Linked DNA regions of Homo sapiens: all the other regions are linked to region 4. Evidence: promoter capture Hi-C in 16 types of primary human blood cells and fetal thymus (Javierre and others, 2016). All regions are on one chromosome and are shown on one strand. Each heading gives the region's core, a stretch centred on a gene start or on the middle of the fragment in contact. The rest is flanking DNA. Distances are from core to core; before and after follow the strand shown. Region 1 overlaps TTC3 (tetratricopeptide repeat domain 3). Region 2 overlaps TTC3 (tetratricopeptide repeat domain 3). Region 3 overlaps TTC3 (tetratricopeptide repeat domain 3). Region 4 holds the start of MORC3 (MORC family CW-type zinc finger 3).

Region 1 (4,419 bases), core at 579-3,078, 850 kb after region 4:
GCTCATACAGTCCTGAGTGAGTCTAACAGAAATGATGAGCACTGTGGAAATTCTAACAACAAATGTGAAGTAATTCCAGAAAGCACCAGTGCAGTAACAAACATTCCACACGTGCAGATGGTTGCCATACAGGTAAGAGTTAAATAGAAAAGTCTTCTTAATACTGAAGTTAAATTTTCCTTTTCATTTTTCATTGCCGTTATATTTGCAAGAATCCTTAAAGTTGATTGACTTTATAATGATTACTGAAGCTTTTGCCTGAAAATACTTTTAAAATATGAACTCTTTTGTGAGGCATGACAGGTAATCTTCTCAGAAAGAAGCTTGGGTCCAATAAACAATACCCATCTTTGCTACTGAAATTCTACACAGATTGAGAAATAAGACAGCAGGTGGAGCCAAAACGTCATCCTAAGAATTAATAAAGGTGCTGGAGGAGAAGGTGGCTGTTTGTAGGAAAGTTCAAGTGCTAGCTGGAAGTGTAGCCTGCATCACAGTGCCTTACCTGCCAGTTACAGGAGGGCCCACCTGGAGGCCTTCCAGCGTGGGGTGCCTGCCCCATAGGACTTAGCGCATGAAGGAGGAAGGGAAAATGTGCTGGCAGCTCCTCAGAAAGAGAAGGAAAAAGGAAGACTCTGACCTACACAGGCCCAGCTTCTCCTGTCAAACCAGGGGAGGAATGAGAATGTTAAAAAGAGACAGCCAGGTAGAAACAAGAGGGATGTGTATGAGTTCTTTCCTAACAAGGAAGAGATGAAATCAAGATTCTCCTATGGTTGCCTTTATAGGGTATGAATTCATTAAATCCTTATTGAATTGCCCCACTCATTATGTTTTCTAGGAAGCTTTGAAAAAAATAGGTTAAGAGCAATGGATCATAATCATTTCCAGATATGCTAATTCTAAATAACTTTCCTAATATACATGTTTACGGAAAGCATGGAACATGATCTAAATGGGAAAAAAAACTTGAAAAAATTGTGGGTGTGTTTTAAAGTGTTACTACTTGATGGGCTTATTTTACTAGAGCGATTGAGATAAAGTGAATTTTATTTTTTGTTTTGCCCACAGGTATCTTGGAACATAATACACCAAGAAGTCAATACTGAGCCATATAATCCTTTTGAGGAACGACAAGTGAGTCAAAATTACATTAAACTGTTTAAAGGTTTAGTTTTCATTAATTTATCTAGATGGAATGATGAACTAGAACTATTTTGGAGTCAGCTTATTCCACACAAAGTTATCATGGAATAAGCTTGAGAACATAACAAAAAAATGATTTTGTTTTTATTGTTGAAATTTGAGAAGGGAAGGAAAAGGTAATTTTTTTCCAGCATACTTATTTCAAATTATAACAGCGTTATTGTTTTATTTTATTATTTTTAAAATTTTATTTATTTTTATTTTAATTATTTTTGAGACACGGTCTCACTGTCATCCAGGCTGGCCAGCTTTATTGTTTTAACTGGTATAATGAGCATATAATAATTTATAAGTAAGCTTATTCATGCGAATAATACAGAAAGATAAAGACCTTCTCTACTATAATAATGATTCAATTAGAAAACCTACTAATATAATTTAGTTCGTTAATATGCATCATAAGAGAAAAGTTGTCTTATCAACTCAAAGTTGCTGTAAAGGTATTGGATAAAATTCAGGTCACTGTCTTGACCAAAACTAGTAAGAAAATGGGAATTGATGAATATTTCTCAACATGCTAATATTTTAAGCCAAAAGCCATCATCTTGCTTAATGGTAAAACATCACCATTAATATTTATTGTTATCCTGGGTATATTAACTGAGAAAGCAGATATGAGAAAGAAAGAAGATAGAAAAGAGGAGATGTGAGTATCATTATTTACAGAGGCTAGGGCTGTGTACCAGGAAAATCCAAAATGATCAACTGAAAACCTACACTAACCTATATAAACCTATACTTGTATATAAAAATATATATAAACAATTACCTGTTAGAAAGTATGTTGAAAGAAAATATTTTCAATACCAAAAAAGAGATAAAATACTTAAATGTATATAAAGAAAAATTTTTAAATGCTATGGAGAGACACATAGAAGCCTTAAATGAAAAGATATTTCATGTACTTGGATAAGAACACATATTATGATAATGAGATTGGTTCTCCCTAAAGCTTTTTAAAATTTAACACAATCCCAGTATATACATGAACAGGGCAAATTAGTTATGTATATTGCTGTATATATAACAAACAACCTCAAAAGCTAGTGGCTTAAAACAGTAAAATATTTCACAATTGTGAAATCTCACAATTTCGCTAAGTCAGGCATTCAGGAGCAGTTTAGTTGGATGCTTCTGGAGATTCTCATGTAGCTAGCCAAGATGTTGACCAGGGCTTGGTCATCTGCGGGAGTAACTGGGCCCAGAGGTTCTACTTCCAAGATAGCTCACTCACATGGCTGGCAAGCGGATGTTGGCAGTTGTCAGGAAGCTTCAGTTCCTTGCCTTGTGGACCTCCACCTAGCCCTGCTTGACCTCATGGGGCTGGCTTTTCCCAGAGTGTGTGATACCAGGCAGAAGCGGCAGTGCTTTAGGAAGTCACAAATTATCACTTCTGCGCATTCTCTTGGTCACATAGATCAATCCACCAACCCTGATACATGGTAGGAGAGGTCTATACAAGGCTGTGACTAACAAGAGGCCTGGTTACTGCACAGGATTAATTTGAAACTAGACAAATTGATTTTAAACTTCATATGTAAAAATGAACATCAAGAATGGGTATGGAAGAGAAACTAAGAAAAGGAGTTGTGCAACTAAATATCAAAACACAATATAAATCTATCTATATTACCACATACATAGACCATTAATATGAGAGTGCCTGGCCAACATGTTGAAACCCCGTCTCTACTAAAAATACAAAAATTAGCCAGGTGTGGTAGCTTACCTGTAATCCCAGCTACTTGGGAGGCTGAGGTAGGAGAATTGCTTGAACCTGGGAGGCGGAGGTTGCAGTGAGCCAAGATCACGCCAGTGTACTCCAGCCTGGGCGACAGAGTGAGACTCCATCTCAGTCAGTCAATCAAGATGGTAGATTGGCTGGGTGTGGTGGCTCATGCCTGTAATCCCAGCACTTTGGGAGGCTGAGGTGGGTGGATCACGAGGTTAGGAGTTTGAGACCAGCTGGCCAACATAGTAAACCCCATCTCTACTAAAATTAAAAAAAATTAGCTGGCCGTGGTGGTGGACACCTGTAACCCCAGCTACTTGGGAGGCTGAGGCAGGAGAATCGCTTGAACCCAGGAGGCACAGGTTGCAGTGAGCCAAGATTGCGCCACTGCACTCTAGCCCGGGCGACAGTGCGAGACTCTGTCTCAAAAAAAAAAAAACAAAAAACAAAACCGAAGATGGCAAATTATCAGTGAGCAAAAACTGGATTATTAAATACATAGGAGAAATGGATTGCCATCTAGAAAAAATCAATCTTGGTCCCTACCTCATTCCTTATACCAAAATAAGTTCCAGGCAGATTAAAGATTTTAGCATAAAAAATGGACCTATAAAAGTATCCAGGAAAAAAACGGGAAAAATTTTTTGTAAGATCAGTAAACAGCATGGGAAAAAAGAATGTTTATATTCATATACACATGCATGTAATGTGTATATCCTATATGCATAGCATATGTATGACAACAAATACATACACATACACATATCAAAACACAGGAGAGAAACAAGGAAAATTATGTGCAGTGTGAAACAGATAGAGAACTAATTTCCTTAACAACAAAGTTTCTATAAATCAGTAAGGAAAAGATCAACAATCTGTCACAAAGATGAGAATGGATGTGAATAGACAATTCACAATGAAAGAAATACAGATGATTTTTAAACATATAAACAGATGCCCACCCCACTTGAAATAGGAAAAGCAATCATTCACATTTTGAAAGATAGTGAAACTGAAATTTCTGGGAAGGCAGTTAGGAATCGATCTGCACTCATATATGTATAGAGAGACCAGTGAGCCAAGGGGATTTGTATGTTTGTTTTGTCTGTATTTGAATCAGCAGAAAATTGAATACAATCTAAACCTCCATCAATAGCGGACTAGTTAAATTATGATATACCTATAAAATGAAATATCATGCTGTCATTTAAAAAGCAGTTCTATAGTTAGATATGGAATGTTTGACAAGATCAATGTCTAGTTAAGTAGGAAGAAGGTCAGAGCTTGTGTTTCCTGCTGCTATTTGTACAAATAGTGTTTAGTTTTTGCTAATGATAAAATAATATATAGAGTTCTTAAATTTTTTAAATGAATAATACCAAAAATTATGAAAGAGAAATTGAAAATCATCTACCTTCCCATCACTCATGTTAATATTTTGATGTGTAGCCTTCCAGGATGTTTGAACATTTACATATAAT
Region 2 (4,411 bases), core at 512-3,011, 820 kb after region 4:
AAAATTAATTCAAGATGGATTAAAGACTTCAATGTTTGACCTAAAACCATAAAAACCCTAGAAGAAAACCTAGGCATTACCATTCAGGACATAGGCATGGGTAAGGACTTCATGTCTAAAACACCAAAAGCAATGGCAACAAAAGCCAAAATTGACAAATGGGATCTAATTAAACTAAAGAGCTTCTGCACAGCAAAAGAAACTACCATCAGAGTGAACAGGCAACCTACAGAATGGGAGAAAATTTTTGCAATCTACTCATCTGACGAAGGGCTAATATCCAGAATCTACAAAGAACTCAAACAAATTTACAAGAAAAAAACAACCCCATCAAAAAGTGGGCAAAGGATATGAACAGACACTTCTCAAAAGAAGACATTTATGCAGCCAACAGACACATGAAAAAATGCTCATCATCACTGGCCATCAGAGAAATGCAAATCAAAACCACAATGAGATACCGTCTCACACCAGTTAGAATGGCGATCATTAAAAAGTCAAGAAACAACAGGTGCTGGAGAGGATGTGGAGAAATAGGAACACTTTTACACTGTTGGTGGGACTGTAAACTAGTTCAACCATTGTGGAAGTCAGTGTGGCGATTCCTCAGGGATCTCGAACTAGAAATACCATTTGACCCAGCCATCCCATTACTCGGTATATACCCAAAGGATTATAAATCATGCTGCTATAAAGACACATGCACACATATGTTTATTGCGGCACTATTCACAATAGCAAAGACTTGGAACCAACCCAAATGTCCCTCAGTGATAGACTGGATTAAGAAAATGTGGCACATATACACCATGGAATACTAAGCAGCCATAAAAAAGGATGAGTTCATGTCCTTTGTAGGGACATGGATGAAGCTGGAAACCATCATTCTCAGCAAACTGTTGCAGGGACAAAAAACCAAACACCGCATGTTCTCACTCGTAGGTGGGAATTGAACAATGAGAACACATGGACACAGGAAGGGGAACATCACACACTGGGGCCTGTTGTGAGGTGGGGGGAGGGGAGAGGGATAGCATTAGGAGATATACCTAAGGTAAAGGACCAGTTAATGGGTGCAGCACAGCAACATGGCACATGTATACCTATGTAACAAACCTGCACGTTGTGCACATGTACCCTAGAACTTAAAGTATAATAAAAAAAATATATATATATAAACAACAAACAACAAAAAAGTGTACACCTGCCACAATAAAGCCAGTGTCCAAGACGAGTTGTGTTTAATGTATATTACTTTTATAGCAAACAGCAATAGTGACTTTGTTTTTTTAAAGAAAATTTAGGTTACATTGAATATTGCTGTTCAGTGATTCATCAAATGTATTCGTCCCAGTAAGCTTGAGATCTTTGGTGACTTTTGAAGGGAGTGAAAATACCATTTTACATCTTTAATGCCTTTTTCATAATTATGACTTTAGATTTCTAGAAGCTCTCAATCACTTTGAGAAAGCAAGAACCTTGATTTATCGTCTTCCTGGAGTGTTAACTTGGCCCACGAGTAATGTGATTATTGAAGAGTCTCAGCCACAAAAAATAAAGGTAACCATTTATTTTTGCAGAGTGTTTCTTACTGTGAATGCTTATCTGCATTGACTGACTCAGGTATCAGGAGGCGGAGAGGTAGGAGCATTCCATCCCCACCTCCCTTACACGCATTTCCCCTCTACTGTCTAATGAGAATCTCTGACATTTATTGAATGTTTTCTGTGTGCCAGTGTGTACCTTCATTTATCATTATGCTTAATCCTTATAGCAGCCCCGTGCAGGGGGGCACTGTGATCATTCCCATTTTACAGATGAGGAAGGTTAAGTTTAGAGAGGTGAAATGATGCACTCAAGGTGAAACAGCAAGCAAATTGTGGTCCTGGAACTTGAGTCCAGGCATTCTGACTTCTGAGTATGCATGATCATGCACTCTGCTGGACTTGGTTGTACTTAGAGGAAGGTATAGTATTGTTGTTTCATCATAAAGTTACCACAGTTACTGAGATGGTACTTGAAGATTTAGAAAAATATGAATTTAGTCTCATATCCAGAAGCATAAAGATGCTTTGCTTGTTCTAGAAAGACTTACGTGTGAAATGACTGAGATAGGCTTTTACTTGTAGTGAACTCTCACATGTACTCAGAACTTGATTTTGGCTGAAGCTTTTAAAATCACAGAAGTCAACTTTTACAACTCAATAATAAAAAGACAAATAATCTAAGAAGTAGTCAAAGGATCTGAATAGACATTTCTGCAACGAAGATATACAAATGGCCAAAATTAGCACATGAAAAGACATTCAGCATCATTAGCTATCAGAGAAACACAAATCAAAACCACAGTGAGATACCACTTCACACTCATTAGGATGTGGGCAGACAATAAATATTGGCAAGGGTGTAGAAAAATGGGAACATTCAGACACTGCTGGTGGTAATGTATAATGATGCAGCTGCTTTGGAAAATAGTCTGGCAGTTCCTCAAACAGTTAAACATAGAGTTACCATGTCTCAGTCCATTTGTGTTGCTATAAAGAAGTACCTGAGACTGGTGATTTATGAAGAAAAGTTGGCTTATGGTTTTGCAGGCTGTATAAGAAGCATGGTGTCAGCACCTGCTGGTGAAGGCCTTCAATAGCTCCTACTCATGTCAGAAGGCGTAGGAGAGCCTGTCTGTAGAGATCATATAGTGAGAGACAGGGAAGTGCCAGGCTCTTTTTAACAACCAACTCTTTAGGGAACTAATGGAGTGAGAACTCACTCACCCCAGGGAGGGAATTAATCTGTTCATGAGAGATTCGTCGCCATGACTCAAAACACCTCCCACTGTGCCTCACCTCCAACACCGGGGATCAGATTTCAATGTGTGGTTTGGAGGGTCAAACATTCAAACTGTAGCATACCATATGATCCAGCAGTTTCACTCCTAGGTGTGTACAGAGAAAGGAAAACATGTTCTCACAAAAACTTGTACATGAATGTTCATAGCAGCATTAGTCATAATAGCCCAAAATGGGAAATAGCCCAAGTATTCGTGAGCTGATAAATGGGTACGTAAGTATTGGAACCTGGGAGGTTGAGGCTGCAGTGAGCCTTGATTGTGCCACTGCAGTGCAGCCTGGGCAACAGAGTGAGAGTCTGCCTCAAAAACAAATGGCCAGTCTTGGTGGCTTACGCCTGTAATCCTACCACTTTGGGAGGCCAAGGCAGGAGGATTGCTTGAGCTCAGGAGTTCAAGACCAGCCTGGGCAACATGGCGAAACCCATCAATACAAAAATTAGCCAAACATAGTGGCACATGCCTGTAGTCCCAGCTACTCAGGAGGCTGAGGTGGAAGGGTCAGTTGAGCCCAGGAGGCAGAGGTTGCAGTGAGCTGAGATCGTGCCACTGCACTCCAGCCTGAGTGACAGAGTGAGACGCTGTCTCAAAAAAAAAAAAGAGTACTGATAACATGCTGCAGCATGGATGGACCTTGGAAACATTATGCTAAGTAAAAGAAGCCAAACACAAAGGGCTTGTGTGAGTCCATTCCTATGAAATCTCCAGAATAAGCAAGTCTGTATATAGTGACAGAAAGTAGACCAGTGATTGCTGGGCCTGGAAGGTTAGGGGAAAATGAGGAGGGACTGCTAATGCGTATGGAGTTTCTTTTTGAAAATGTTCTAAATTTAGACCGTGGTGATGTCAGCACATCCTGTGAATATGCTAAGAACACCGAACCGTACACTTCATTTGAGTTGTATAGTGTGTAAATTATGTCTCAACAAAGCTATTATAAAAAATACAACACAGGGATTCTTGGATTTACCTCTCTTCATACAAGATTGGGATAGAGGCATAGGAGCTATTGATAACAAAAAGCCAGCACTGGAAGCATGGCATGAGTCTCTTGGGGGCTTCATTAGCAGTGGAATAATTCTCCAGGGAGTCCACAAACAACAGTGGCAGAGCTGCAAGGAGGAAGATAATGGGAGTGTTAGGATTCTGGATGAGGTGATGTTGGGCAAGAGGAGCCTGGTAAAGTCCTCAGGATTACCCTAAGGGTTATTCTGCCTTACTTGACTTCCTCTTAATGCTTATGGAAGATTTCTGAGAGCTGTAAATTATAAAATGCGATTTGATGATTGTAACAGGACAAAATTTTGATTCTTTCGAAATTCTGAAAAAAAATTTTGTCCAGTCCTCTTTTTAAATCTCTCTTATGTCTCTTATCAGCCTTCCTTTTAAAAGGAAAAACTTTAAAAGTTGTATGTAGTTTGTTGTTGGTGAAAAAATTTAGTCATTCTTATGCTGAAAATATTTTGATGGCAAGAGGTTATTGAAATCACAAGCATTTTTATTGACAGATTAGTATTGTAATGGTATCATTTTTGTTTATTTTGTTTTAGATGCTGTTAGAGAAAT
Region 3 (4,797 bases), core at 1,456-3,955, 790 kb after region 4:
CCTACAAGAGCTCCTGAAGGAAGCACTAAACATGGAAAGGAACAACCGGTACCAGCCACTGCAAAAACATGCCAATTTGTAAAGACCATCAAGGCTAGGAAGAAACTGCATCAACTAACGAGCAAAATAACCAGCTAACATCATAATGACAGGATCAAATTCATGCATAACAATACTAACCTTAAATGTAAACGGGCTAAATGCTCCAATTAAAAGGCACAGACTGGCATATTGGATAAAGAGTCAAGACCGATCAGTGTGCTGTATTCAGGAAACCCATCTCACGTGCAGAGACATATAGGCTCAAAATAAAGGGATGGAGGAAGATCTACCAAGCAAATGGAAAACGAAAAAAGGCAGGGGTTGCAATCCTAGTCTCAGATAAAACAGACTTTAAACCAACAAAGATCAAAAGAGACAAGGCCATTACATAATGGTAAAGGGATCAATTCAACAAGAAGAACTAACTATCCTAAATATATATGCACCCAATACAGGAGCACCCAGATTCATACAGCAAGTCCTTAGTGACCTACAAAGTGACTTAGACTCCCACAGAATAATAATGGGAGACTTTAACACCCCACTGTCAACATTAGACAGATCAACGAGACAGAAAATTAACAAGGATATCCAGGAATTGAACTCAGCTCTGCACCAAGCGGACCTAATAGACATCTGCAGAACTCTCCACCCCAAATCAACAGAATATACATTATTTTCAGCACCACACCACACCTATTCCAAAATTGACCGCATAGTTGGAAGTAAAGCACTCCTCAGCAAATGTAAAAGAACAGAAATTATAACAAACTGTCTCTCAGACCATAGTGCAATCAAACTGGAACTCAGGATTAAGAAACTCACTCAAAACCGCTCAACTACATGGAAACTGAACAACCTGCTCCTGAATGACTACTGGGTACTTACGAAATGAAGGCAGAAATAAAGATGTTCTTTGAAACCAACGAGAACAAAGACACAACATACCAGAATCTCTGGGACACATTCAAAGCAGTGTGTAGAGGGAAATTTATAGCACTAAATGCCCACAAGAGAAAGCAGGAAAGATCTAAAATTGACACCCTAACATCACAAAAGAACTAGAGAAGCAAGAGCAAACACATGCAAAAGCTAGCAGAAGGCAAGAAATATCTAAGATCAGAGCAGAACTGAAGGAAATAGAGACACAAAAAACCCTTCAAAAAATCAGTGAATCCAGGAGCTGGTTTTCTGAAAAGATCAACAAAATTGATAGACCGCTAGCAAGACTAATAAGAAAAGAGAGAAGAATCAAATAGACACAATAAAACATGACAAAGGGGGGATCATCACTGATCCCATGGAAATACAAACTACCATCAGAGAATACTGTAAACACCTCTACGCAAATAAACTAGAAAATCTAGAAGAAATGGATAAATTCCTCGACACATACACTCTCCCAAGACTAAACCAGGAAGAAGTTGAATCTCTGAATAGACCAATAACAGGCTCTGAAGTTGAGCCAATAATTAATAGCTTACCAATCAAAAAAAGTCCGGAACCAGATGGATTCACAGCCGAATTCTACCATAGGTACTAGGAGGAGCTGGTACCATTCCTTCTGAAACTATTCCAATCAATAGAAAAAGAGGGAATCCTCCCTAACTCATTTTATGAAGCCAGCATCATCCTGATACCAAAGCCTGGCAGAGACACAACAAAAAAAGAGAATTTTAGACCAATATCCTTGATGAACATTGATGCAAAAATCCTCAGTAAAATACTGGCAAACCGAATCCAGCAACACATCAAAAAGGTTATCCACCATGATCAAGTGGGCTTCATCCCTGGGATGCAAGGCCGGTTCAACATATGAAAATCAATAAATGTAATCCAGCATATAAACAGAACCAATGACAAAAACCACATGATTATCTCAATAGATGCAGAAAAGTCCTTTGACAAAATTCAACAACGCTTCATGCTAAAAACTCTCAGTAAATTAGGTATTGATGGGATGTATTTCAAAATAATAAGAGCTAGCTATGACAAACCCACAGCCAATATCATACTGAATGGACAAAAACTGGAAGCATTCCCTTTGAAAACTGGCACAAGACAGGGATGCCCTCTCTCACCACTCCTATTCAACATAGTGTTGGAAGTTCTGGCCAGGGCAATCACGCAGAAGGAAATAAAGGGCATTCAATTAGGAAAAGAGGAAGTCAAATTGTCCCTGTTTGCAGATAACATGATTGTATATCTAGAAAACCCCATCGTCTCAGCCCAAAATCTCCTTAAGCTGATAACCAACTTCAGCAAAGTCTCAGAGTACAAAATCAATGTGCAAAAATCACAAGCATTCTTACACACCAATAACAAACAGAGAGCCAAATCATGAGTGAACTCCCATTCGCTATTGCTTCAAAGAGAATAAAATACCTAGGAATCCAACTTACAAGGGATGTGAAGGACCTCTTCAAGGAGAGCTACAAACCACTGCTCAATGAAATAAAAGAGGATACAAACAAATGGAAGAACATTCCATGCTCATGGGTAGGAAGAATCAATATTGTGAAAATGGCCATATTGCCCAAGGTAATTTATAGATTCAGTGCCATCCCCATCAAGCTACCAATGACTTTCTTCACAGAATTGGAAAAAAACTACTTTAAAGTTCATATGGAACCAAAAAAGAGCCCACATTACCAAGTCAATCCTAAGCCAAAAGAACAAAGCTGGAGGCATCATGCTTACCTGACTTCAAACTATACTACAAGGCTACAGTAACTAAAACAGCATGTTACTGGTACCAAAACAAAGATATAGACCAATGGAACAGAACAGAGCCCTCAGAAATAGTGCCACATATCTACAACTATCTGATCTTTGACAAACCTGACAAAAACAAGCAATGGGGAAAGGATTCCCTATTTAATAAATGGTGCTGGGAAAACTGGCCAACCATATGTAGAAAGCTGAAACTGGATCCCTTCCTTGCACCTTATACAAAAATTAATTCAAGATGGATTAAAGACTTCAATGTTTGACTTAAAACCATAAAAACCCTAGAAGAAAACCTAGGCAATACCATTCGGGACATAGGCATGGGCAAGGACTTCATGTCTAAAACACCAAAAGCAATGGCAACAAAAGCCAAAATTGACAAATGGGATCTAATTAAACTAAAGAGCTTCTGCACAGCAAAAGAAACTACCATCAGAGTGAACAGGCAACCTACAAAATGGGAGAAAATTTTTGCAACCTACTCATCTGACAAAGGGCTAATATCCAGAATCTACAATGAACTCAAACAAATTTACAAGAAAAAAACAACCCCATCAAAAAGTGGGCGAAGGATATGAACAGACCCTTCTCAAAAGAAGACATTTATGTAGCCAACAGACACATGAAAAAATGCTCATCACTGGCCATCAGAGAAATGCAAATCAAAACCACAGTGAGATACCATCTCACACCATTTAGAATGGCAATCATTAAAAAGTCAAGAAACAACAGGTGCTGGAGAGGATGTGGAGAAATAGGAACACTTTTACACTGTTGGTGGGACTGTAAACTAGTTCAACCATTGTGGAAGTCAGTGTGGCGATTCCTCAGGGATCTCGAACTAGAAATACCATTTGACCCAGCCATCCCATTACTGGGTATATACCCAAAGGATTATAAATCATGCTGCTATAAAGACACATGCACACATATGTTTATTGTGGCAGTATTCACAATAGCAAAGACTTGGAACCAACCCACATGTCCAACAATGATAGACTGGGTTAAGAAAATATGGCACATATACACCATGGAATACTAAGCAGCCATAAAAAATGATGAGTTCATGTCCTTTGTAGGGACATGGATGAAGCTGGAAACCATCATTCTCAGCAAACTGTTGCAGGGACAAAAAACCAAACACCGCATGTTCTCACTCATAGGTGGGAATTGAACAATGAGAGCACATGGACACAGGAAGGGGAACATCACACACCGGGGCCTGTTGTGAGGTGGGAGGGGAGAGGGATAGCATTAGGAGATATACCTAATGCTAAATGACGAGTTAATGGGTGCAGCACAGCAACATGGCACATGTATACCTATGTAACAAACCTGCACGTTGTGCACATGTACCCTAAAACTTAAAGTATAATAATAATAATAATAATAATAATAAAGAAACTATTTCTATTTCCTAGTAATTAAAATTGTAGGGATTTGGTACACAGATAAAAGAATGAAACCAATAGTGCAGAATAGAGGGCCTCCACACAGAACCCACTATGTGAGTAAATATTACAATGTCATATTGTCTGAGTCCTTCAGATTGGCAGAAATTAAAGAGGCTGATAGTCTGGTGTTGGTGGGTATGTGTAGTAACAGGAAGCCCCAGTAAACTGGTGGGAGTGTGATTGCTTACAACCAAGTCAGGGAGCACTATAATAGACTCCACAGTTACTTGATTCTGAGTGTGTGTGCTCTAGAAAATTTCTTGCAAATGTGCACATGGTTTGATATGCAAGGTTGGTCATTGCAGCATTGTTTTAATGGCACACAACTGCAAATACCTACATGTCTATTGATAAAGCAGCAGATAAATGTGGTATTTTCACTTGATCAAAGTTGTTACTCTGACCTGTGTGATCTGTCCCCGTCTTGAACACTTGTTGTTTCTCCAACCTCACTGCTCCTGCTCTGTCCCTGGTTCACTTTATCTTGGCCTCTTGGCATCCTCACTGTTCCTCAGACATTCCAGGCCCACTTCCACTTTGTACTTGCCCTTCCCTCTGCCTAGAATGCTTT
Region 4 (4,267 bases), core at 843-3,342:
AACCCAAGAGTTCAAGGTTGCAGTGAGCTATGATTGTGCCACTGTACTCCAGCCTGGGCAACAGAGTCTCTAGAAAAAGAAAAAAATCCAGGCCAGGCGCGGTGGCTCACGCCTGTAATCCCAGCACTTTGGGAGGCAGAGGCGGGCGGATCACGAGGTCAGGAGATCGAGACCACGGTGAAACCCCGTCTCTACTAAAAATACAAAAAATTAGCTGGGCGCAGTGGCGGGCGCCTGTAGTCCCAGCTACTCGGGAGGCTGAGGCAGGAGAATGGCGTGAACCCGGAAGGCGGAGCTTGCAGTGAGCCGAGATCATTCCACTGCACTCCAGCCTGGGCGACAGAGCGAGACTCGGTCTCCAAAAAAAAAAAAAGAAAAAAAAATCCATTCTCTTTTGTTTCTTTTTCCTTTTTGAGACGAGAGTCTCGCTCTGTTGCCCAGACTGAGTGCAGTGGTGAGAACATGGCTCATTACAGCCTCAGTCTCCCAGGGTCAAGTAGTCCTCCCCACCTCAGCCTCCCAAGTAGCTGGAACCACAGGCGTGCGCCCCCAAGCACAATTAATTTTTTTTTTTTTTTGAGATGGAGTTTCGCTCTTGTTGTCCCGGCTGGAGTGCAGTGGTGTGATCTTGGCTCACCGCAACCTCCACCTCCTGGGTTCAAGTGATTCTCCTGCCTCAGCCTCTCCAGTAGCTGGGATTACGGGCATGTGCCACCACACCCGGCTAATTTTGTATTTTTAGTAGAGATGGGGTTTCGCCATGTTGGTCAGGCTGGTCTCAAACACCCGACCTCAAGTGATCTGCCCGCCTTAGCCTCCCAAGGTGCTGGGATTACAGGTGTGAGCCACCACGCCCTGCCAGCTAATTCAATTTTTTTTTTGTAAAGATGAGGTCTCCTCGTGTTGCCCAGGCTCGTCTCGAACTCCTGGGTTCAAGAGACCCTCGCAATGTAGCCTCTCAAAGTGCTGAGATTACAGACATGAGCCACTGCACCCAGCCAATTTCTCTTTCTAAAAATAATTAATTTTTTTGAGACAGTCTCACTCTGTCGCCCAGGCTGGAGTACAGTGGCGCGATCTGGGCTCACTGCAACCTCCTTGTCCTGGGTTCACCCACTTCTCCTGCCTCAGCCCCCCGAGTAGCTGGGATTACAGGCGCCCACTAATATGCCCAGCTAATTTTTGTATTTTTAGTAGAGATGGGGTTTCACCATGTTGGCCAGGCTGGTCTTGAACCCCTATCAAGTGAACCCCCAACCTCGACCTCCCAATGTGTTGGGATTATAGGCATGAGCCACTGCACCGGCCTTATGCCTTTAGGACTCTTATTTATTTATTTTGAGACGGAGTTTCACTCTTGTTGCCCAGGGTGGAGTGCAATGGCGCAATCTCGGCTCATTGCAACCTCCGCCTCCTGGGTTCAAGCATTCTCCTGCTTCAGCCTTCCGAGTAGCTGGGATTACAGGCATGTACCACCACGCCCGGCTAATTTTGTATTTTTAGTAGAGATGGGATTTCTCCATGTTGGTCAGGCTGGTCTCGAACTCCCGAAGTCAGGTGATCCGCCCGCCCACCTCGGCCTCCCAAAGTGCTGGGATTACAAGCGTGAGCTACCGCGCCCGGCCCCAGAACTCTTTTTTTTTTTTTTAAATCATGAGTTAGATTGATAGTTTTCAGGGCAAATCCAAACAGTCTACATTAATTTCCGTCTTTATTTCGTTAAGGTTTCACATGGACACTGGTGGATATGGAATGGCTTTTTTCTGCGCAATTCACATCCGACCAGGTCAAGTGACTGGAGTTCACCGGTCTCGGGTATACCGCATCTCGCGCCAGGCTTCAAACTCTAGATCCCCGAGTCTCGAGCTCCAGCTGGGTGTCGAGACGGGTACGGGCCGGCCGCGCCTCGCGCATGCGCCCTAGGCCCGCAGGGCCCCGCGCTGGAAGCTCAGCTCCCACTGTACCCTGCTTTAACCAGTCAGGCAATTCATCTTCCCCAAGCTCCCAATTCGGCATTGCCTGGAGGCGGAAGTGGGTGGGAGGGGCCAGACGTGCGCCCCTCCCCGGAAGTGGGCGGTACCCATAGGGCTCCACAGTCGTTCCGCCACCTCCCAGTCGGGTTGCGGCGGAGGCCGTTCCTGGCTTTGTAGCTCGCTCAAGATGGCGGCGCAGCCACCCCGCGGGATACGCCTCAGCGCGGTGAGCAGCCGCGAGGGGTGGAGCGGGCCGTGTCCCAGGAGGGCGGGCGGGCAAGCGAAGGGGGGCCGGCAGTGGGCGGTGGCGGCTTGTGGGGCCGACGCGGCGGCGGGGGCTGCGGCGGGGCCCGGGGAGGGGGCGGCCATCTCGCTCCCGTCGGCGGAACAGCTCGGCTGCGGGCCGGGCTGCGTTCCGTCGCCTCTGCATTGTGTTTCTGTTTTGCTTCGGGGCGGGCCAGGGTCGCGGCTCCTCCTCCCAGCTCCCTCCTAGTCTCCCAGCAGCTGTCGTCCGCGGGCGAGGCCTCGGCGGGAGATCGGTCTGCTCTCGGGGCCGCGGGGCCCCTGACCCTCTTCTGTCCGCTGGGCGTCGTGGTGGGAGGGAGCGGGTTCCGCGTCCAGAAACGCCGGCGGCCTCGACGTCCCGGGGGCGGGGGGACGGGGCTGCGGGCCTGCCTGCGGGCGAGTGGAGTCAGGATGAGTGTGCCTGATGCCTGTCAGTGCCTGCAGCTTCCTTGGCAGTGGAAGCCTTGGGGCCCAGACCCTAGATCGCTGAGCTCGAGCTCTCCTCTTTATCCCGCGTTGCGTCTGTTTTGGGGCGTTTCGAGTTCTTGGAAACCCTGTGAACATTTCTTGTATCTTAAATCGTAGGGAGCGGTCACACAAGATAACTTGAAATCTCACGTCCAGGAAATGTGGGCGTGGCTTCCCCACCTGATTATCCTAAAAAACTTTTCTACCTTGTGAGCGCAGTTGATGTTATGCTGAAATGTTCCTCTTTTCTGGAGGTTGTTGACTTTTGCCAAAGAATGACTGCCCTAGTGCCACTAATTTTAACATTCGAATGGGTAGTGACTCCTTGGGGTACAAACACGTAGTGAATAATTGGTGCATTGCTCTGGGACTTTCATTCGTTTAGGCAGATTCTAACACCTGGTTTTGACGGACTTTAAATTTTTTCTAGTCCGATATTTGTGAAATGATATTTGCTTTTACTTGCGTTTCCTTGACTGTTTGTGTTGTTGAGCTCTTCGCATGTATTAGTCTTTGTGGTTTTTTGTTTTGTTTTTTTGAATTGCCTATTCATATCCTTTGACCATTTTCTGTTTTTCTTTTGGGAGGATCTTTATTGATTTGTAAGAGTTCTTTACGTATTCTGGATAAAGGTCCATCCTTTCGTTATGTAACTAGCTTATTGAGTGAGCTAGGCTTTAGTAGTTTGAAAATAGAGGACAATTTTATTCTTTTTTTCTTTTTTTTTTTTTTAACCACTGAGTGTAAACATTAATTATTCCCCACTTGTGTGAATCTGGGTTGACTAACGCTTTCCCATTAGCTTAAGGTATTGTAAAGTCTGGCCTTACCTAGTTTAAAATCTCTATTCTCTCTCCCTCCCTTTTCCCCCTCTCTTTCCCCTATCTCCTTTCCCCACTTCTCTCTCCTTCCTCTCTCGAGGTTGAGTCTTGTTCAGGCCCAGAAACCTGTAGTGGAGAAACGGAGTGAGTTGATTTCCTGTTTCTGTCCTTTGATTCTCTTCTCCCTTCCCGCCCCCAGGCCCTTGTAGACTCTGGCTCTTCAAGATTGAGGGGAGAAAGGAAGCAGAGATAATGGTCAGTGTTTAGAGACCAGCATTGTTAGCGGGCACTCTGGGTGTAGCTGCTGTCCATGTGCTGGGTCTTTGTTTTGTGGGTAATATGGGCTGTTGGGAACCTGACTGACAGAAATCTCCCATCTGCAGCCTCTTTGCTTTTGCTTTAGGTCAGGAGTTGGCAAACTACATACAGCTCATGGGCCAAATCCAGCCCAGCACCTGTTTTTGTGTGGCCTGAAGGCTAAGAGTGATTTATACATTTGTAAATGGTTGAGAAAAAAAGAAGAATGTTTAGTGACATAAAAATTATGCGAAATACAAATTTCAGTTTCCATAAAATTTTATTGGAATATAGCCAGAAACATTATTTGCTTATAGTTTTCAAATGCATGCGTTAAGAGATAAAAATTAATGAGCTTATGTATTTGTCAAAAGTCCTACATTTTAAGGCACAAAGGGTGAACCCTTAGTGTATACACTTTTT

Evidence for each region. The method cuts DNA at HindIII sites, captures the fragments that hold promoters and counts their contacts. A CHiCAGO score of 5 or more calls a contact.
Region 1: a contact is called between a fragment that was not itself captured here and the fragment with the promoter of MORC3 in region 4, in 1 of 17 cell types (M2 macrophages). The highest score is 7.7, in M2 macrophages.
Region 2: a contact is called between a fragment that was not itself captured here and the fragment with the promoter of MORC3 in region 4, in 1 of 17 cell types (M2 macrophages). The highest score is 6.9, in M2 macrophages.
Region 3: a fragment that was not itself captured here is called in contact with the fragment with the promoter of MORC3 in region 4 in 1 of 17 cell types (M2 macrophages); the score reaches 5.0 in M2 macrophages.

The regions. Positions count from the first base shown.
Region 1 is chr21:37,166,484-37,170,902 of GRCh38, forward strand. It overlaps TTC3 (tetratricopeptide repeat domain 3), which reads left to right. Exons shown (of 46, transcript NM_001330683.2): 33 at 1-132; 34 at 1,072-1,137. Among named protein-coding and RNA genes, the nearest start is that of TTC3-AS1, 25 kb to the right of the region's middle. The HindIII fragment of the contact is 655 bases long and covers 1,502-2,156 here.
Region 2 is chr21:37,143,086-37,147,496 of GRCh38, forward strand. TTC3 (tetratricopeptide repeat domain 3) reads left to right here. Exons shown (of 46, transcript NM_001330683.2): 21 at 1,440-1,560; 22 at 4,396-4,411. Among named protein-coding and RNA genes, the nearest start is that of TTC3-AS1, 49 kb to the right of the region's middle. RefSeq lists an enhancer at 4,253-4,411. The HindIII fragment of the contact is 811 bases long and covers 1,357-2,167 here.
Region 3 is chr21:37,111,032-37,115,828 of GRCh38, forward strand. All of the region lies in intron 11 of TTC3 (tetratricopeptide repeat domain 3), which reads left to right. Among named protein-coding and RNA genes, the nearest start is that of TTC3, 40 kb to the left of the region's middle. The HindIII fragment of the contact is 5,562 bases long and covers 1-4,797 here.
Region 4 is chr21:36,318,105-36,322,371 of GRCh38, forward strand. It overlaps MORC3 (MORC family CW-type zinc finger 3), which reads left to right and starts at 2,093. Exons shown (of 17, transcript NM_015358.3): 1 at 2,093-2,199. The coding sequence starts at 2,161. RefSeq lists a silencer at 2,217-2,676. The HindIII fragment of the contact is 27,571 bases long and covers 1-4,267 here.